Regions from separate parts of the Homo sapiens genome. Here region 1 is linked to region 2. Evidence: promoter capture Hi-C in 16 types of primary human blood cells and fetal thymus (Javierre and others, 2016). All regions are on one chromosome and are shown on one strand. The core of a region is centred on a gene start or on the middle of the fragment in contact, and the rest is flanking DNA. Distances in the headings are between cores, read along the strand shown. Region 1 has its middle 18 kb from the start of BHLHA9. Region 2 holds the start of INPP5K (inositol polyphosphate-5-phosphatase K).

What was found. The method cuts DNA at HindIII sites, captures the fragments that hold promoters and counts their contacts. A CHiCAGO score of 5 or more calls a contact.
Region 1: a fragment that was not itself captured here is called in contact with the fragment with the promoter of INPP5K in region 2 in 1 of 17 cell types (endothelial precursors); the score reaches 5.7 in endothelial precursors.

What each region holds. Positions count from the first base shown.
Region 1 is chr17:1,251,096-1,254,364 of GRCh38, forward strand. No RefSeq gene overlaps it. Among named protein-coding and RNA genes, the nearest start is that of BHLHA9, 18 kb to the right of the region's middle. The HindIII fragment of the contact is 4,133 bases long and covers 1-3,269 here.
Region 2 is chr17:1,515,071-1,518,456 of GRCh38, forward strand. It overlaps INPP5K (inositol polyphosphate-5-phosphatase K), which reads right to left and starts at 1,542. Exons shown (of 12, transcript NM_016532.4): 1 at 1,386-1,542. The coding sequence starts at 1,429. PITPNA (phosphatidylinositol transfer protein alpha) reads right to left here. Exons shown (of 12, transcript NM_006224.4): 12 at 2,648-3,386. It overlaps PITPNA-AS1 (PITPNA antisense RNA 1), which reads left to right and starts at 1,849. Exons shown (of 2, transcript NR_028514.1): 1 at 1,849-2,023; 2 at 2,648-3,026. RefSeq lists a silencer at 1,628-1,927. The HindIII fragment of the contact is 10,075 bases long and covers 1-3,386 here.

The sequences.
Region 1 (3,269 bases), core at 231-2,730, 260 kb before region 2:
GTATATTTAGTAGACACAGAGTTTCACTGTGTTAGCCAGGATGGTCTCGATCTCCTGACCTCGTGATCCAGCTGTCTCGGCCTCCCAAAGTGCTGGGATTACAGGTGTGAGTCACCACGCCTGGCCAGAAGCCCCTAACTCTTTTAGAACAACGTGCTATTTATTAATAGGCTATTTTCTCATCTCCCCTTCTGGGAAAGCTCACTCAGAAAAACCCTTAACACACAACCAGAAAGCCTCTGGTTACAAGTGACCTTTGCAAAGTGTCCTGTTTTCAAAGGAAGGGGCTTCAAAATAAGAGAAGATGGAAGACATCTGAATTGGAACTCACCCCCGCACCCCAACCCTGGGGAAGAGGGTGGGGATCAAGATCACTGCCGGCCAGGCACCATGGCTCACGCCTGTAATCCCAGCACTTTGGGAGGCCGAGACAGGTGGATCACGAGGTCAAGAGTTCGAGACCAGCCTGGCCAACATGTTGAAACCCCATCTCTACTAGAAATACAAAAATTAGCCGGGAGTGGGTGCACGCTGTAGTCCCAGCTACTCGGGAGGCTGAGGCACGAGAATCACTTGAACCCGGGAGGCGGAGGTTGCAGTGAGCTGAGATCTCGCTGTTGCACTCCAGCCTGGGCGACAGAGCAAGACTCAAAAAAAAAAAAGAGAGAGAGAGAATATTAGCCTCTCCTTGTTCCTCCAAAAGGCAGAAACTAAACCCCCAGAGGCAAATCTACCAAGGCTGACCCACTCCCCACCACACTGCCCTGCTCCAACCCCACCGCCCCTCAACCATCCTCCCTACCTTCCAGGGGAATTAGGAACGGAGCAGAACTCCATGGCAGCCAGTCTTGGTTACCCACTGATTTAATCTCTGATTCCCGCCGTGAGGAGAAAGAATATGAATTACTATAAACCCATCTGTTCCCTTTCTTTCTAAAAAGACAAGGACCCGGGGCTGGGTAATAATACTGTTGGCATTACGGGAGGTCTCTAGCTCACTGGTGTCTCCCTCCCCCCTTCCCCCAACAGCGCATAATTTGAAGATTTTCTTTAAAAAAAAAAATGACTTTAACGCCCCCAACTAATGTTTTCCTAACAGTAATAATTATAAATTCCAAACAAAAACTTAGCGGCGTGTGTGTGTGTGTGTGTCTCTTCCAGGCTTTTCATTTCAATAGATCTGCTAATTAAAAGCTATAATTTAACAAATAATGACCTAACCATCTCACTTTGAAATCAAACAAAAACCTACCACTAAAATGTGGGACTAGATACAGATAATGAATCCGGGTGCAATTCACACTCCTGCTGGGCCCAGGCTGGCCCCCTTCCAGCAACGGGCCTACGCCTGTGATTAGCAGAAATAGCTTTTCCAGCCATTTGGAGCAAACAGGGAGGATAAGTGAGCAATTTATGAGTCTAACAGTCGTTTTGGACCCACGCCCACTGCTGAAGGAGCAGGATGGAGCATTTATCCCTCCCCTGCCCTCGTTCATTGACACTTGGTCAATTTCATTTTCTCCCCGGCCCTCTTTGGCCCCTGGGGGAGAGAGTTATTTCTTTTTTTTCTTTTTTTTGAGATGGAGTCTCGCTCTGTCGCCCAGGCTGGAGTGCAGTGGTGCAATCTCCGCTCACTGCAAGCTCCGCCTCCCGGGTTCAAGCCATTCTCCTGCCTCAGCCTCCCGAGTAGCTGGAACTACAGGGGCCCGTCACCACCCCTGGCTAATTTTTTGTATTTTTAGTAGAGACGGGATTTCACCGTGTTAGCCAGGATGGTCTCAATCTCCTGACCTCGTGATCTGCCCACTTTGGCCTCCCAAAGTGCTGGGATTACAGGCGTGAGCCACCGCGCCCGGCCCCTAAAGTTATTTCTTAATAACAAGCCGGAAGGATTTGTGAAAAGGAAAACTAGTAATGAAACCAGGTGAAGATGCCCACTGAATCCAGCATCCTAAATGTTTAATAAAATAATAAACGATGGGCTGGGTGCAGTGGCTCACGCCTGTAATCCCAGCACTTTGGGAGGCTGAGATAGAAGGATCACCTGAGGTTGGGAGTTTGAGACCAGCCTGGCCAACATGGTGAAATGCCGTCTCTACTAAAAATACAAAAATTAGGCTGGCATGTTGGAGGGCGCCTGTAATCCCAGATACTCGGGAGGCTGAGGCAGGAGAATGGCTATTTTTTTTTTTTTTTTTTTTTTTTTGAGATGGAATCTCACTCTGTCGCCCAGGCTGGAGTGCAATGGTGCAATCTCGGCTCACTGCAACCTCCGCCTCCCAGGTTCAAGCGATTCTCCTGCCTCAGCCTCCCGAGTAGCTGGGACTACAGGCGCCCCCCACCAAGCCTGGCTAATTTTTTGAATTTTTAGTAGAGACGGGGTTTCAGCGTGTTGGTCAGACTGGTCTCGAACCCCTGACCTCGTGATCCGCCCGCCTCGGCCTCCCAAAGTGCTGGGATTACAGGCTTGAGCCAGCGCGCCCGGCCGAGAATCGCTTGAACCCGGGAGGCGGAGGTTGCAGTGAGCCGAGATCGTGCCATTGCACTCTAGCCTGGCGACAGAGCAAGACTCTGTCTCAAAAAAAATTTTTTTAATGTAAAAAATAATGCAATGATAAAAAACAATGAAAGCAAGATTGTTTCCCACCTACCACGCCCCTTCCCTGAGCTGGGAATTGGGCACCTGTGCCAGGTTAAACATAGCCCGCTGTTCTGGAACCTTCCCCGCAGCCCCAGCTCACACCAGTCCGCTGAGAGGCTGCCCAGCTGCTGTACAGGAAATGCTCACGCTCCGTGGGAGGAGCCTTCAAACACTCACCCCTTCCTGGAGTCCCGGCGGGACGGGAGAACTGGGGACTCTGCGAAAGCGCTGCGGAGCGTCCAAGAGCTCCCCGTGGAGCTGAGGCAGGAAGACCGCGCACTGGCTGAGACCCCAGGAGCCCAAAGCTGGACCTGGCGCAGGCGCAGGGAGGAAGGCGCTTCTGGGTGTGCAGAGGTCACACGGCCACCCGAGGACCTCAGCCTAATCCTGCCTTGAAATCTTAAATCCCAATGTCCGCCAGGCGCGGTGGCTCACGCCTGTAATCCCAGCACTTTGGGAGGCCGAGACGGGCGGATCACAAGGTCAGGAGTTCGAGACCAGCCTGGCCAACGTGGCAAAACCCCGTCTCTACTAAAAATACAAAAAAAAAAAAAAATAGCCAGGCGTGGTGGCAGGTGCCTGTAATCCCAGCTACTCGGGAGGCTGAGGCAGGAGAATGACGTGAACC
Region 2 (3,386 bases), core at 292-2,791:
TAACTTTTGTATTTTTAGTAGAGACGGGGTTTCACCATGTTGGCCAGGCTGGTCCTGAACTCCTGATCTCTCAGGTGATCCGCCCGCCTCAGCCTCCCAAAGTGCTGGGATTACAGGCCTGAGCCACCGCGCCCGGCCAAGGAGTTTTTAAGTAACAGGTTTCTCGACATCTCTCTTAAGAGTCTATGCTCTATGTCTGCGTAGTATTCCGTGAAAAATAAAGAGTACTCTCTGGGGAAAAGTCATCAGTTGGATATTTTCCACCTCAGCTTACAAGTCTTAGGGAAGCAAGAAAACTAGATAAGGGGCCTCAATGACACTGGATCCAGTCAGAGGCTCAGGAAAGAGAGACCTACAGATGTCTTTAGTGGAACAGTCAGTCACAGCAGCTCTTCAAGAAGCCTCAGACTGTGCGGAGCACAGAGCGGGCAGGAGCTACAGACCCTGCAGAGACCAGGAACAGCCTAGCATGAGTCCTAGGCACACGATGAGGAGTACCTGCAGCAGCTGGAGATCTGGAATGGCAGAGGGTACAGGGGGATGGGAGAAAAGGGCAGTTAATGCCAAAACATCTCTCCTCCAACAGACCCCGTCCTTAGAGGTCGACGTTCTCAAAAGCACTTCAAGAAATTCTTGGCCAGTTTAAAGCAACTTCCTGTCCCTCCCTGTTAGCATAAACAACACTATACAGAAACCACCTTCCCAGGCACTCGGCCTGAGATTTTGAGCTTCATTTGTTTACGATCTCCCCCTGCTGTCCGACAGAGGCTTAAGGAACAAAGACCTTTTACTCAGAGACTTCTTTTCCCAGACTCACTCTAAGAGGATGGAGAGCAAAAGTCCGGATTTCTTGTTCCCACTCTCAAATCCGACGATTAGCAGCAAATCCAAGCATCGTGACTTAGACTAAGTGGGCGATTAGCGTTGTTCCCCGTGAAAGAGCAGGCAAGAGACCAGGCTAAGTCACTTCCCTAAAGGATCTTATCTCAATCTGATTTCGGATTCCCGGGGTTCACCATGGGATCAGGCAGACCTCCTGATGTATGTGCTGATGAAAAGTAGGAAAAAGATTTCTAACCGAGAGCCGAAGGGTGACGGCCTCGTTATGTCTTTAACCTCAAACAACCCCACACGGCTGTCCTCTCCAGAAAGCAACCGGGACACCTGCTGCGCCCCAGTGGGAACGAGCTTGGCGGCCTCGGCTTAGAGGGGGCGCGAGGCTCGGGCCCAACACAGCCCACCTGACACAGGCGTGGGAGAAGGCGAGAGCGCCTCTGAACCAAAGGCAGTCATGGAGGTCTGGTGCCTTGTCCACCCCCAGCCCGCAGCCCAAGGGGCGCCGATCCCCCCGAGCAGGCCTGCCTCTGCCGCCAGGGTGCCCTCACCTGAGCCTCCTGCCTTTCGGCCCGCTCAGCTTCCGCGAGCTCATGGCCGCCGTCGTCCCCGCGCGGTGGTCCGGCAGGTTCGCGTCTCCCGGCCAGCGGGTCCCGGCCAGAGCAGCCCTGCGGGCGGCCGGTCTCACGCGCCTAGCTGTCGCGGACTGTTTTTCTTCCGGACTCCGACCGTCCGCCCCGGCTTCCGTCAGAGACGCGCCCTCCGCGCACCCCGGGATCTGGGTGGTGCGGTTCGCAGAAGGAGGCGGGACTCTCCCACGAGCGCAAAGCTGCGAGAGGCTGAGCGAAGACGGGTTCGCGGACGTAAGAGGGGCGTGTCGGGCCTGTCATCAGCGCACGCGCAACACTGCCCCAGACGACGCGAGGTGTGCGGCCGCCACTAGACCCGGCCCAGCCCGCGCCCGCCGTCCGCAGCTCCCAGCGTGCCCCGCGCCAGGGGCCGTCTTCCGGCGGAAGTTGTCTCTTCGCCGCCGCCGCAGCCTCTGCCCCACTCGTGAGGGATCCGAGGGCTCCGTCCTTGTGCTGTCTTCGCCCCGGCTCCCAGGGGTCAAACGAGGGTCGGGGGTGGGGACACGCAGCCTAGCCACTGTCCTGCCTGGGATCCGGTCTCCCCCGCCCCCCGGCTGCAGGTAATCTCCCCATTCCTGCTACTGCGGGAGCGCCTCCGTTCTCCACGCCCACTTTCAGGCTTCTACTCCAAACTTATTGGATTACCTATTGCATATGGGACGTTTGGGGATTCCTGGACTCCTACAGAATTAGCCGTCAATAAATGAAACGTAGGCCGGGGCGCGGTGGCTCAATGCCTGTAATCCCAGCACTTTGGGAGGCCGAGGCGGGCGGCTCACTTGAGGTCAGGAGTTTAAGACCAGCCTGGCCTTAACATGGTGAAACCCCGTCTCTGCTAAAAACACAAAAGCTAGCTGGGCTTGATAGCGCGCGCCTGTTAATCCCAGCTACTCGGGAGGCTGAGGCAGGAGAATCGCCTGAACCCGGGAGGTGGAGGTTGCAGTGAGCCGAGATTGCGCCACTGCACCCCAGCCTGCGCGACAGAGCGAGACTTCGTTTCAAAAAAAAAAAATAATAATAATAATTAGCCGAGATGGGGTTTCGCCATGTTGGTCAGGCTGGTCTCGAACTCCTGACCTCAGCTGATCCACCCGCCTCGGCCTCCCAGAGTGCTGCGATTTCAGGTGTGAGCCACCGCGCCCGGCCTAAAACTACTTTAAATAAATGTTTTGCTTGTTTGGTAGGGTGGATAAAGAGGAAGATGTGAAGAGGAGGCAGACAAAAGCAAAAGGACATCCTGTCAGTAGGAAACGGCCGAATTACAATTCAGATGTGCAATGTTTGCATAAGTAAACTGACACGGGACTATTATATGCAGAAATCCACGTGCAAAAATTTTCAGACACACCTTTGTACCTCTTCCTAATCCTGCCCTGGTAAAATGGCGGTTATCAGTGCAAGTTTGAGGATACATACAGCTGGAAAATGGACATCACCAAACTGGACTCCAGAAAGTTCTGTCTAGGATTTTATTAGACTGCTTTTTTTCTCAATATACCTGTATTGGAAGATTGAGACAAAAAGGCACAAACTCACATTAAATAAACAAGGTAATCTAATCAATTCTACAAAGTGTAGTTTGTAAAACAAGTAGCACTAGGAACCAACCAAAGTAAGTCAGGGAGTCCCAGCAGGGACTGTAAAAGAACTTGGGAAGCTATACACATGCCCACGATACTGACCCTGTCCCGGACCTCTCTGCATGAGAAGGCCAGAGCCCAGCACCCCTCCTACAGAGGCACTGCTGCTTCTGTTGGGGCTGTGACCCTGGAATTCTGATGGAAGCAGCTGGTCTGAAGGGGCATGGCACACACTCAGGTACTACCCCTGGAGCTGAACCTTTATCATAAGTCCCTCTGAGTGCTAGTCAGTTTGGAGGTGGGTGAGGAGGAAAGGGGGTACTTAAAAGAAGCCAACACTGTT